Linked DNA regions of Homo sapiens: all the other regions are linked to region 2. The links are contacts of gene promoters, found by promoter capture Hi-C in blood cells and fetal thymus (Javierre and others, 2016). All regions are on one chromosome and are shown on one strand. The core of a region is centred on a gene start or on the middle of the fragment in contact, and the rest is flanking DNA. Distances in the headings are between cores, read along the strand shown. Region 1 holds the start of AREL1 (apoptosis resistant E3 ubiquitin protein ligase 1). Region 2 holds the start of TTLL5 (tubulin tyrosine ligase like 5). Region 3 holds the start of EIF2B2 (eukaryotic translation initiation factor 2B subunit beta). Region 4 holds the start of DLST (dihydrolipoamide S-succinyltransferase).

Evidence for each region. Contacts are between HindIII fragments. The CHiCAGO score rates a contact against its expected background, and 5 or more counts as called.
Region 1: a contact is called between the fragment with the promoter of AREL1 here and the fragment with the promoter of TTLL5 in region 2, in 7 of 17 cell types (fetal thymus, non-activated CD4 T cells, naive CD8 T cells and 4 more). The highest score is 10.9, in fetal thymus.
Region 3: a contact is called between the fragment with the promoter of EIF2B2 here and the fragment with the promoter of TTLL5 in region 2, in 4 of 17 cell types (naive CD8 T cells, fetal thymus, naive CD4 T cells and 1 more). The highest score is 6.2, in naive CD8 T cells.
Region 4: the fragment with the promoter of DLST here is called in contact with the fragment with the promoter of TTLL5 in region 2 in 3 of 17 cell types (neutrophils, monocytes and activated CD4 T cells); the score reaches 6.9 in neutrophils.

What each region holds. Positions count from the first base shown.
Region 1 is chr14:74,711,565-74,714,465 of GRCh38, forward strand. AREL1 (apoptosis resistant E3 ubiquitin protein ligase 1) reads right to left here and starts at 1,516. Exons shown (of 20, transcript NM_001039479.2): 1 at 1,369-1,516. FCF1 (FCF1 rRNA-processing protein) reads left to right here and starts at 1,580. Exons shown (of 8, transcript NM_015962.5): 1 at 1,580-1,636; 2 at 1,921-1,988. The coding sequence starts at 1,634. RefSeq lists an enhancer at 1,414-1,693. The HindIII fragment of the contact is 16,377 bases long and covers 1,031-2,901 here.
Region 2 is chr14:75,659,551-75,662,830 of GRCh38, forward strand. It overlaps TTLL5 (tubulin tyrosine ligase like 5), which reads left to right and starts at 1,696. Exons shown (of 32, transcript NM_015072.5): 1 at 1,696-1,837. ERG28 (ergosterol biosynthesis 28 homolog) reads right to left here and starts at 1,326. Exons shown (of 5, transcript NM_007176.4): 1 at 1,225-1,326. RefSeq lists a silencer at 1,388-1,437 and an enhancer at 1,548-1,767. The HindIII fragment of the contact is 4,369 bases long and covers 703-3,280 here.
Region 3 is chr14:75,001,579-75,004,670 of GRCh38, forward strand. It overlaps EIF2B2 (eukaryotic translation initiation factor 2B subunit beta), which reads left to right and starts at 1,343. Exons shown (of 8, transcript NM_014239.4): 1 at 1,343-1,575; 2 at 1,697-1,817; 3 at 1,973-2,121. The coding sequence starts at 1,413. RefSeq lists enhancers at 890-979, 1,021-1,701. The HindIII fragment of the contact is 8,033 bases long and covers 612-3,092 here.
Region 4 is chr14:74,880,289-74,883,215 of GRCh38, forward strand. It overlaps DLST (dihydrolipoamide S-succinyltransferase), which reads left to right and starts at 1,628. Exons shown (of 15, transcript NM_001933.5): 1 at 1,628-1,728; 2 at 2,303-2,336. The coding sequence starts at 1,666. RefSeq lists silencers at 1,560-1,786, 1,643-1,972. The HindIII fragment of the contact is 10,796 bases long and covers 1-2,927 here.

The DNA of each region.
Region 1 (2,901 bases), core at 266-2,765, 950 kb before region 2:
AAATAAAATTGGCATAAAATTCCAACCCTGCCACACATCCTCAAGTTGGAAGACACACAATGGTAACAACAGAAAACACTCTGAGTAGTCTGGTTTACACTCTTCTAGGGACCTCGCATGTTAACTATGAATAAACATAAGTCCTGATAACATCCCAATAAAAGAGTGCTACTATGATTATCTCCATTTTACAGATAAAGAAACTGAGATGCAGATAGATTAACTCACCCAATGTCATGGCGAGTTATAAGGCAGAGCAAGGATTTTAACCCCATCAGTCAGACTCCAAAGTTCGTGTTAAACAATAAACGTGTTTTCATCATAAGGGTTATACAATGGTCACCTTCTTTTTTAAACCTGATAACATATTTTACTTCCAACTCTAGGATAGCATCATGCAATAAGAAAAGTATGACAGAGGTACCCATTCCGTTCCCAGCTTGATCAGTAGCTGGAGAATGGAAGACAAAGTGCAAAAAAAAAAAAAAAAAAAAAAAAAAAAAGAAAAAAAAAGAAAGAAAGAAAGAAAGAAAAAGAAAAAAAGAAATACAAGTACAGACTTTGGAATCACGAGACTCAAACAGACCCCTGAACAAAGTCTGGGGCTCAATTTCCCCATATGTAAAATAAAAGAATTTATGTTATTGAGAAGGTCAAAGAAGGTAATATGAATAAAGTGACAAGTACAGTATACAGGATGGGGGTTTTCATTTAAAGTTTACAGACACCCAGAGGGTCCACGGATGGGCTTCAGAGTCCACCAATCTCATTAAGTGTATTACAAACTGTATGTGTGCCCATTTTTTAAAGAATTGTTCCTGGCTTTCCACAAACTTTCAAGAAATAAGTTATCTCCAAAAAGTTAAGAACCACTGGAATACATAGCAGGTACTCAAAGAAAAAAGCTACCTTTCGCTCCTTGTTCTCACAAATTCTCCCTTTTTACTTAAAGATGACACACCAAGGCTTCACAATAAATGTGCATTGTATCTCACCATTTTCTTGGCTTGGGTAAGTAGTAACATATGCAAGCTTATGCCCCAATTCTCTAGCGATAGTCTAGGCCCTCAAACACTGCTTCATTTCTCTCTTCACCGAGAGGAGTACACGGTATATACTCGAGAACAATCATCCACCTAGCTGCACAAAGCACCATATCGGCTAGGAAAACCAAATAGGAACCACAGCCTCAGGGCTGGACCATAGACACCGGATACCCCAACGCTACAGGGTGAGGAGAATGTGTTCCCCCAAACTACTGGGCAAACCAGGAGTCTGAACCCCCCTACCCTTTTCCTCCCTCTCTCTCTGGAACTCTGGTAAAGGCAGGTCTTCTGGGCTCTGCCTAAGGCTGGAGAGAAACGTTACCCGAGCCGGGGGTTGCAGCGCGACGAAGTTCCACCTCCGCTGTCCTGGGAAGGGGCGGCAGCACTCAGCAGAAGACGGGCTCCCCACTCTCCCACCAACAGACCCCAGAGTTGGTCTCCACCCGGCCTGGGAACCGGCTCGGGGGATTGCCCTTTCCCCAAGGAGTTTCCGCTTCCGGGCTATCCTTTGCCGGAAGCAGTATGTGAATGACGTAGAAGTATTGCGCCGTTGGTGATTACGGAAGAACCAGGAGTTTGGCGTGACCATGGTGAGAGAAGACGGTCCAAGAAGGGACGTTATCAGGCCACTTTTTGGGTGGAGAAGGAGGTAGTCAGACCGTGGCCAAATTTCCTTCACATTATCCTAGCATATTTTCATTCTGGTCTTAGCTCTTAAACTTCTCCAAGCGGTGACTGTTATGCTTTACAGAGTGGGGAAGAGGGTCTGGGTTATTTGAGGCAAGAAGGGAAGGCAATAGACAAGAGAAAAGAAGAGACTTTAAAAGATGCCGTGTGTTTCCAACTTTTTTAATTCTAAAATTTCTGTTTCAAGGGGAAGCAAAAGAAAACAAGGAAGTATGCGACCATGAAGCGAATGCTTAGTCTCAGAGATCAGAGGCTGTGAGTGTCTGGAATCAACTGCCCAGGGATATTCTAATAAGAGTCTAGAGAGGATAAGTAGTAAAAATGTTTGTTGTTATTATTTTGTTTTTTGCTTATTATCGTGTCTTAGATTTATATAGCATGAGATAGCCAGTGTTTAACAGTAATTTAGCTGCTGAGCGATCACACTGGGAAAGGCGATGGGAATTAAACATTTCTTAAGTGTTCACTTTTTCTACCGTTATATGCTTTGTCTGCCATATCGCATTTAAACCTCATGTCAGTTCGGTGAAGTCCGTATAGTTCTCTTTATGTTTTTACCATTACACTACTACATTCCCCTGGGGTGGGGCGAGGGGAGTGTTTCTTGTTGAAAGATGGCAAGGTTAGAGACCTTGTTTGTCTGGCGTTTCCAGTGCCTGGTACTCAAATATTTTTGTCAGAGAAAATGGGAAAACTCCAAGATATCTCCATTTTATAAGTCTTACTAATATAAGAATCCAAATCACTGTGGAAGAAGAAAGTGAAGTGAAATTCCCTAGTATGAAGAGGATCAAAGCGGTGTCCCTGCTTAAGTGTAGAATAAGCATAGCTATTAAATAAAGACTGATCTTCACTGAGTTTAAGAGTCTCAGAAAGCCGGGCGCAGTGGCTCACGCCTGTAATCCCAGCACTTTGGGAGGCTGAGGCGGGTGGATCACCTGAGGTGAGGAGTTCAAAACCAGCCTGGCCAACACGGTGAAACCCTGTCTCCACTAAAAATACAAAAAAGAGTCTCAGAATAAGAGAATAGTCGTTAAAACCTTCAGAATTATTATTCTCAGCCTTTAGTGTGGATGTATTGTGTAATTTTTAGGAATGACACTCCATTAATAATAATTTCTTTCTAGTTAAGGGTTAAGTTCTGTATATGCGTTTTTACATTTTAGCC
Region 2 (3,280 bases), core at 446-2,945:
ACAGCACCCAGCCTTTTTTTTTTTTTTTTTAAGGCTTAGTTCAACTCTTGTTGAGTAGTAATTTCAGTTAGTCTGATTTAAATAAAACCAAAATAGATAAATAATCTAATAATGGAATGACTTTTTCCCATCCTCATTATTATTTTCTTGGTCCACGGTTTATCTGTTGTCAGGTTAACCTCTTGGGCCTGAAGTGGTAATAAACTAACAGGCTTTCTTTGTCACTTTGGCAATACAAGTTTCGGTATTGTTCTCTGCTACCCAGTGGGACAGATATTAAAGTCAGCAATGGCCCAAGACAGTGTGAAACACCGCCGCCCCCCCCCGCCAACTCCCCGCCCCAAACAAGCAATAAAGAGATCTAGAGAAGGAAGGGTGAATTGATGAGCCCTTCAGGGAGAGCTGGATCACAAAGGTGGTCTCTGTCGAAGATCAGAGAGACTGAGGGTCTACTGGACATCACAGGCCATTATCATTTGGGCCAAGATCCACCCATCCTCTTTATTTTCTCACTCTCTCTCAAGAGGAGACTCCTCCGGGGTTTAGAAAAGCTGCATGGATGCACCTCTCCACTTTTCTGCACAAGTATGCCTTCCATTTCACAGAAGTGTTATCTGTTAGAAATCCCAACAGATAGCTGATGAGGACAGAGCCTGAGCACTTCTGAATTGCTCTGCCAATTTCTCAACCTAATTTCCCTAAAGCTTAAGGGCCTCTTAGAGTGTATACAACATCTATTTCCAAATTTTGTCCTGGCCCTGGCCCAGCCCAGCCAAGCCCAGCCCAGCATAGGTGTGCTGTTAAAACTTAATCAGGAGAAAGGGATTCTTATCCTGGCCCTACCACTTAGTAGCTGTGTGACCCTGGGTAAGTCATTTACACTTTTCAGTCTCGGTTTCCTCATCTGCAAAATGGAGATAGAAATATCAACCCGAAGGGCTATTGTAAGAATTATATGACAAAAAGTGAAGGCTCTTTGTACAGTGCTAGGCTCATAGTGGCTGCTCATTCGCTCATCCATTCCTTCGTTCCTTGAATTCACCAAGCCTTCTCCATCTTCCTAGCTCCCCCTTGTCATCGCCTCTCGAAACCTTTTCCCCCCAAAAGGTTGCCTTCCAGTTATCTTCCTTCCATCCCACCTCCATTTTTCCAGACTCTCCGGATCCTCTCAATCAGAAGCAACACAGACACCTACATCCCTCTTCTCCCCCATATTCTCCTTACCTGGCGACCGGGCCCCCAGCACAGCAGTGGCAGCAGCAGCCGCTGCCGCAAACAAGCTCCCCCAGGACAGCTCCAGCCCGGAGTCCACCTGAGCCATTTGTCCCCGCCCCCTCCCTCAGCCCTGCTCCAGGATTGGGCCGTTTCCGTCAGTACTCTCTCTGATTGGCTGTCCCGGTTTCGCCCGAGCAGGAGATGGGGAGTGAACCCCTTTACTGCCAATCAGCGGTTGCCGCTGCCTAAGCCTCTCCCCAGGTACGCCGCTCACGCCGTAAGCCCTCCTGTTGGACCTAGCGGAACTCCGGGTTTGGAGTCAACCTCTTAGGGGCGGAGAAAAAAACAGCGGAAAAAAAAAAAAAAAAGAAGACTCCCTTCAGCTGAGGGCAGGGCTCTGCGCCCGCGCTGCGCGGCGGTGACGACATTCGCCCGCGTCCGCAGCTGAGCGTTATGAGCGCCTGCGCAGTGGCTCCGAGCGGGCGGTTGCTTGTTGGTTGTTGTAGTAACCGGGGAAGCAGCCGTCGGCGGCTGCCCTGAGCCTTCCTGGGGAAGGAGGAGGGAGGTAGGCGCAGAGCGCGGTCCACGCCTGCTCGCCCCGAACCATGGGAAGATGAGACAGGTAAACGCCTGCGCCCGCGCGCTTCCCTACCCTAGGGAGGAGCATTCCCGGGTCCGGGCTGGCGCCTGCAGCAGGACTTCCCGCTCAGAGCCCGGGAGTAGCTGTTGGCTTCCGGGCGCGCCGCGTTGAATCGCGGCTGCGGGGTCGTCCCGTCCTTCCCGGGGGGAGCATCTGCGGACCTACGTGGGATTGGGGTGAGCTGGGGGTGGGGCTGAGAAGCAGATTCCTTTCGGGAGAGGAGTCTCCTTAGGTGAGTATCTCTACTCTTCTTCCGATAGACCTGTTTCTCCCCGCTCTGCAGGCAGCCTAGGAGAGGTTGGCATCCCTTCCCGTTTGGAGGTTTTGTTTGTTTAAACTTAAAGGGCTTCCCAGCATTTTGGGAAAGATCAAGAAATCCCGTTGAGAATCCCCTGAAGAAAGCCATTGAAGTTGTTAGACATTGCCTATTGCGCCGAAGATCTTTGATCATTATCGGGGTCTGTTTTTTTTTTGTCTTATTTACAGTCTCATCGTATTTATGAATGCATGGAAAAGTTAAGAAGGATTGACAGCAAGTAATTATCGCTGAGTAATTTGGGATTATGGTCATTTAAACATGTTTCTTTTATTTGTAGTTCCTATTTCTTCTTCTGACACACACAACGAACATGTACTTTTTTACTTTAGAAAAAATATTTTAAGTTAGAAATGCAGTGTTGGAAATTTCCTAATTTCATCGTCTATTTGAGAGTCGTACCAAACTTTGTGATTTTTAGGAAGAATAATTTTTAAGAGTGGAAGGGCATTCCTCCCCTCCCCCACCTATTTATATGGACCTTTGATTCAAGAGAATATATTCATCTTTCGGTTCATTGTTGAATTTATTTTACTGGAAACATGATGGCATCTTGTCAGCGTGCTTGTCATAGAGTCTAAATAAATGTTGGCAGGGGTTTTTTGTTGTTTTTTTTTTTTTGAGACGGAGTTCACTCTTGTTGCCCAGGCTGGAGTGCAATGGCGCGATCTTGGCTCACCGCAACCTCCGCCTCCCGGGTTCAAGCGATTCTCCTCCCTCAGCCTCCCGAGTAGCTGGGATTACAGGCATGAGCCAGCACACCCGGCTAATTTTTTGTATTTTTTTTTTTTTTTTTTAGTAAAGACGGGGTTTCTCCATGTTAGTCAGGCTGGTCTCGAACTCCCGACCTCAGGTGATCCGCCCGCCTTGGCCTCCCAAAGTACTGGGATTACAGGCGTGAGCCACCCTGCCCGGCCTGCAAGGGTCTTAAACCTTGAGTTTTTATTTATTTATTTTTAACCCAGGCCAGGTTTGTCTAGCAAGGAATATATGTTTTAGGGAATCAGTCACCTGCCTCAAACTGAGTGAAAGTGAGGAGTCTATCCTTTTGGTGCATATTCGATTTAGTAAATAATGAGAAACTCAAACTTAGTAACAGCTCTTCAAAT
Region 3 (3,092 bases), core at 93-2,592, 660 kb before region 2:
GAGTTCAGGAAGTTCCCTTTTGTTCTAGTTTTCTGAGAGTTTGTACCATGAATATTGAATTTTGTCAAATGTTTCTTCCTGCATCAATTGACATGATCATGTGGTTTTACTTCTCAGATTGTTAATATGGCATATTACATTGATTTTTAAGTGTTTAATCAGCTTTGCATTCCAGGTTTATGTTTCACTTTGTAATTACATATTATTCTTTTTTTATGTATTGCAGGATTTGATGTGCTAATAATTTGTTGCAATTTTTGCTTCTATGTTCATGAGAGATATTAATCTGTAATTTTCTTTTCTTTGTACTACCTTTGGCTAACTTTGGTATTGACATAATCTTTTTGGAGGGCAATTTGTTAATTGTAACAAAAGTCTAAAATGTGCTCGCCTATGGATTCCACTTTGAAGAATTTATCTTAAGGAAATAGAGATTTCTATTACACACATACTTTGGGTTCAGGTAGACCTGGATTTAAGTATGAACCCAATCCTTTATTAACTGCTTAAATTCTGTGGGTCTGTTTCCCAATCTGTAAAATGGGGATAAGAGGACCTATTTCAGACCTTATTAACTGAGACAATTCACACACAGTGCCCAAGAACCAGTAAGCTTTAAGTAAATGGTAACTCTTGGTATTATGTTATACTCTCTGGCCTCTCTGTAGGAGGACAATTCTGTCCAAATCAGAGGATGTCATCTTTGCTTCTGTATTGGCTCCCACTTTGAATCTCCTTAATCTTCCTCATCTCTAATTTCGCCGTCTTCTGTTAGACGTGTTAGGCCTTGAGAATACAAAAGCAACAAAAGATATCGTCCTTGTTTTCAGAGACATGAACCTCCTAGACACAGGCGCAAACGGTACCAAGCAATGTAACAGAACAAAAGTGAGACGTCTGCCCAAGGGGCAGCCGACCCTGGACATGCATTCAGAGCGTCAGTGTCAGCTGACACTCGGGAGTGACAGCTCGGGCAGTCACCGAGCTGGGAAGACAGGAGGGAGTGCCGCAACTTCTTCAGTGTAGCCTTAAGTCGCGGTGAGGGGCGCGTAGAGACTTGCTGCTCCCATAGCAACGGGACCAGCCACCCTCTACAGGCCTGACGGGTTACTTCCGTTCACCGTCGGCTGAGCCAAGAAAGGCCGCTTCCGATCCTCCAGCCCCCGAGGCGCGGGGGCGCGCGGACGCCCGGTTATAACTGAACAACCCGAGCCCCACGTCTCTGATTGGCTCAGGCAGAGGAAGGGGGCGGGAGATCGGCAACGAAGGGCGTAGCCGGCTTCCACTCAAACTTGAGGTTTCCCCCCATCCCCTCACAGCGGAAGCCGACCTCGCCCGCCCCGGAAGTGCAAACTGTGTGGTCTGGCAGGTGTGGATTCCGCCGGTGAAGGCTGAAGGCAGCTACCTTAAAGATGCCGGGATCCGCAGCGAAGGGCTCGGAGTTGTCAGAGAGGATCGAGAGCTTCGTGGAGACCCTGAAGCGGGGTGGTGGGCCGCGCAGCTCCGAGGAAATGGCTCGGGAGACCCTAGGGTTGCTGCGCCAGATCATCACGGACCACCGCTGGAGCAACGCGGGTGAGGCCGGCCTGCCTCCGCCGGCGAACCTGGCCCCTGTCTGTTCCCGATCCCAGGGCTGAAAATTTCCCAGGCCTCACTTCGCGTTGGCTCCTCTTATCCTCTCTCTTTTGGACTGTAGGGGAGCTGATGGAGCTGATCCGCAGAGAGGGCAGGAGGATGACGGCCGCTCAGCCCTCCGAGACCACCGTGGGCAACATGGTGCGGAGAGTGCTCAAGATTATCCGGGAGGAGTATGGCAGGTCAGGCTCACGTCCTGGGCTCCTGGTTGGATCCAGTGACACTTTTTGCACGGGCCCCTCTACCTGCTCGGAGACTTTATTGGAGCTGAACAGCCCTTGTTACCTGCCTGACCACTCCTCCCCACCTCTCTCTTTGGGTCTTGTTGCCTCTATAGACTCCATGGACGCAGCGACGAGAGTGATCAGCAGGAGTCCCTGCACAAACTGTTGACATCCGGAGGCCTAAACGAGGATTTCAGCTTCCATTATGCCCAACTCCAGTCCAACATCATTGAGGCGATTAATGAGCTGCTAGTGGAGCTGGGTAAGAGGCCTGATCGCTGGGAAAATGGGACTGGTCACAGGCACATAAGGGAACAGAAGCCTCTGAAGGTTGTTCATTAGCAGAGATGGGAGATTAGCTGTCTTCTGGTTCTCAGAGGTTTGTCCTCCTTCCTGATTAGGAAATGTTGCAACAGGTGACAGGACCAAAGTAATCCTCTCTACTTTTCCTTACAGACCAACCCTTGATAGACTACAGATCTGTGGAGTGGAACAGACTCTATTAGGACAGAGTTTTATTTTCATTGTAAAGAAACAAAATGAACTCCCTAGAGAGCCAAGGTCGATAGACCTCCTTCACTATCTGAATTTTTATACACACGTACACGTATACCATTTCTATCCCCCTTGTCATTGCGGTCCAAGTGACTTGCAGATATTCATTGTAATCAGAGGATGAAGAAGCTGCTTCCAAATTGCTCCCCCATTTTTTCTTCTCTGGCCAGTCTCTCTCATGTAGAAGTGTTGTGGCCACCTTTTGGAGGAAGACTTCTTTTAGGCCGAAGCTCTCTTTACCCTATTCTCAGCACTTTAGGATTTCCCAGATTGCCATTCCTTGGCTGAATCTACTGTCTTCAAAATCAGTTGTAAGGAGCTCTGTAGTGACAGAGGTGGTTCATAGGTAGGGGTACTTCTGGAAGAGGGCAGGCAGAAAATCCCAGAGGAGTGGGGCTTTTAAGAAATTGTGACATAGCTGGGCATGGTGGCTCACACCTGTAATCCCACAACTTTGGGAGGCCAAGGTGAGTGGATTGCTTGAGACCAGGAGTTCAAAACCAGCCTGGGCAACATAGTGGGACCCTGTCTCTATTAAAAAAAAAGAAATTGTGACATTTCACTTTAAGCACATTAACCCTGTGGTACCAGGGTCTGCTAGGTGGGCAGTGCATGTGAAGGGCAGACATCTTTTTCCGTATACGCGTAATGTGTGTTTGTGATATAGCAATTTCATAT
Region 4 (2,927 bases), core at 378-2,877, 780 kb before region 2:
AGCAATTCTCTTGCCTCAGCCTCCCGAGTAGCTGGGATTACAGGCATTCACTACCACACCCAGCTAATTTCTGTATTTTTAGTAGAGATGGGGTTTCACCATGTTGGCCAGGCTGGTCTTGAACTCCTGATCTCAAGTGATCCACCCACCTCATCCTCCCAAAGTGATGGGATTACAGGCGTGAGCTACCACACCAGGCTCAGAAGGATCTTTGACACAGATATAAAGGATGATGGGCTAGAGAAAGCGAGAGCGGAGGCTTAGAACTGCTTAGGGAGCTTTTCAAATAATTCAGGTGAAAGCTACTGAGGAGTTAATTGTGGGTAGCAGCAGGGCAGAGCTGTTTTCTCTATTTCTAGTTAGGACTTTGGCCCATCCTTCCAGAATTTCAGTGGCAGTGCTTTCAGGGTTCAGGTGAGTGAAGGCACTGTAAAGGTCCTGATGGAATTTGAGGCCAGCCTGGGCAACATAGTGAGACCCCGTCTCAATTTATATTAAAACATAAATTAATTAGAAAAATAAAAAATAAAGGTCCTGAGGGCCAGGCAAAATGCCTCAGATAAAGAAATCATCATGAACGGCACCAAGTGGTTCATTCATTCATTCATACATTTATGTGTTACTAATTCAGCCAGAGGTTTAAAGCACATCTTTTTCATTAGGAAGGTGAGCCTTAAAGGTGAATACTCAAGGGGCCTGAATACTTAAGGAGGGGAAGGGGATGCTATATGCTTTCACTTCAAGTCAGCGGGAAGAATGGCACACTCAAAGTGGGGAGGTCAGCCTGGCATGGTGGCACCTGTAGTCCCAGCTACTCCAGAGGCTGAGGCAGAGGGATCGCTTGAGCCCAGAGTGTCGAGGCTCCAGTGAACTATGACCTTGTTTCTTAAAAAAACAGCTGGGAGTTTATATTCTAGGGATAGGGTGACAAACGAACAACTTCCAAAATGCACAAGATGTATGGGGAACAATTAGTTTGGCTGGAATTTGCGTTGGGGGGAGATCAGAAGCTGTTGAGAAATAAGGCTATAGTTGGTGAAGATATCCGACTCGTAAAAAGGCAATGGGATTTAGAAATTCCTGGGATTCTGTTTCTTTGACTCGGGGTTAGGAAGACAGGGAAGTAACAAGTGCCTTTTTTTTTTTTTTTAATAGTTAAGGGACCTGAGACTGGGGGTGGGGGGCAATGTCATCTGCCCCAGGCCACACAAGTGTAAGATCAGGCATGCATGTCTGCCAAGGTTTCAGTTCAATGTCCGTGCCCCTCTTTTGCTCTCTTCCCAAGGTACAGAGGCGGAACGGCGCGGTGCCCTCGGGTCCCAAGAGAGAAGGGCGCCAAGCTCAGAGCCAGTTCTGTGGAAGGGTAGGGGAAGGCCTGACCCCGGGGGCAATGTGGTGGCGGGACAGTCGTATACACCTTCAGGAGAACCACCTCAGGCTGACAGGCAGTGCGGAGGGCCCCAAGAGCGCCTTAGGGTTGCCTGCTCCAGAGAGCGGGACTCCTGCGCTGCAGCCGGGATACTGGGCGCCGCCGTGCGCCCACCCCCTGCCAGTGGTTCGCTCCGAACACCCCTCGTCGGGCGGCGGGTACTGCGGCCCGCCCCACTTCCGGTTGTTGTCCGGCCCTATATCCGGTGTCCGCCCGCCCTCGGCTCCTCCGCCGTGATGCTGTCCCGATCCCGCTGTGTGTCTCGGGCGTTCAGCCGCTCGCTCTCCGCCTTCCAGAAGGTACGGTCTGGCCGAGCCGGGGCCCCGACGGGTGAGGAGTCTGTTGGCGGGCAGAGAGGCGGCCTGGAAGGCAGGGGCGCGGCGCGCCGGCCGGGCCGGGCACCAAGGGCACTGGGACGCGGAGGCCGCGCGGGCTGGGCGGCCCGGGGCCGTGGTTGCCCTCGGGACCGTTTTGCGGAGCCCAGCGGCCCCCTGCCTTCTCCAGGCAGCCTGCGGGGAACGTTTCCTGCTGTACCCCACCCTCCGCGCGGGAGCTGGGGAGCCGCGCCCGTCCAGATACTTGACTCAGAGTTAGGGAGGAGGCGCGGCGGAGTCCTCCGGCGGGATTCGGCGCCCGTCTCGTCTTGCTCTGTTAAAATCAGTGGGTATTAATGAGTCCCGTTGGGAAGTTGAGATAGTTTGGCAGGCCCAGCGTGTTGATTGGGTCTGCCAGCACGGTGTGTTGCATTTACCTTCGGAGTTACGAGATTCACCTGTCACCACCACTGGGACAGCTTTGAGCGTGTACTTAAAAGAAAAAGCTGGGTTTTTTTTTCATCTTGGGTGACGTCGATAATGTCTTCTTTCTCAACAGGGGAACTGCCCTCTAGGGAGACGTTCCCTGCCTGGTAAGTTCTGCCCTTACCGTCACCTAAAATGCTCTCCTCCTGGGCAGAGCAGTATGTGAGGAACTCGGGGGTGCCTGTGTTTCTCATAATATTTAAAGACAGTTTGGTTCAGAGAGTAGTGAGACGCAATGCTACATAATCACGAGCTATCGCTTATTCATTTAGCTCGTAGTTGAGTTTCTACTGTGTTAGGCACTGTGCTAGACGCTAGGGATACAGGAGTGGATACAGAAGTGTACAGTTCTTGCCCTCGTGGAGCTCCTAGGCTAGTTGGATAGTGTCAGTTGCTAAACAAGCCAACAAAGGCAAATTTTTGTAACTGCTGAGAAGGAAACGAGGGTGGACAGAAGAGCCCTTTTTGAGGAGGTGACTTAAAAGTTATGGCCATGGCCGGGCGCGGTGGCTGACGCCTGTAATCCCAGCACTCTGGGAGGCTGAGGCGGGCGGATCACGAGGTCAGGAGATCGAGACCATCCTGGTTAACACGGTGAAACCCCATCTCTACTAAAAAATACAAAAAATTAGCCGGGCGTGGTGGCAGGCGCCTGTAGTCCCAGCTCCTCGGGAGGCTGAGGCACGAGAATGGCGTGA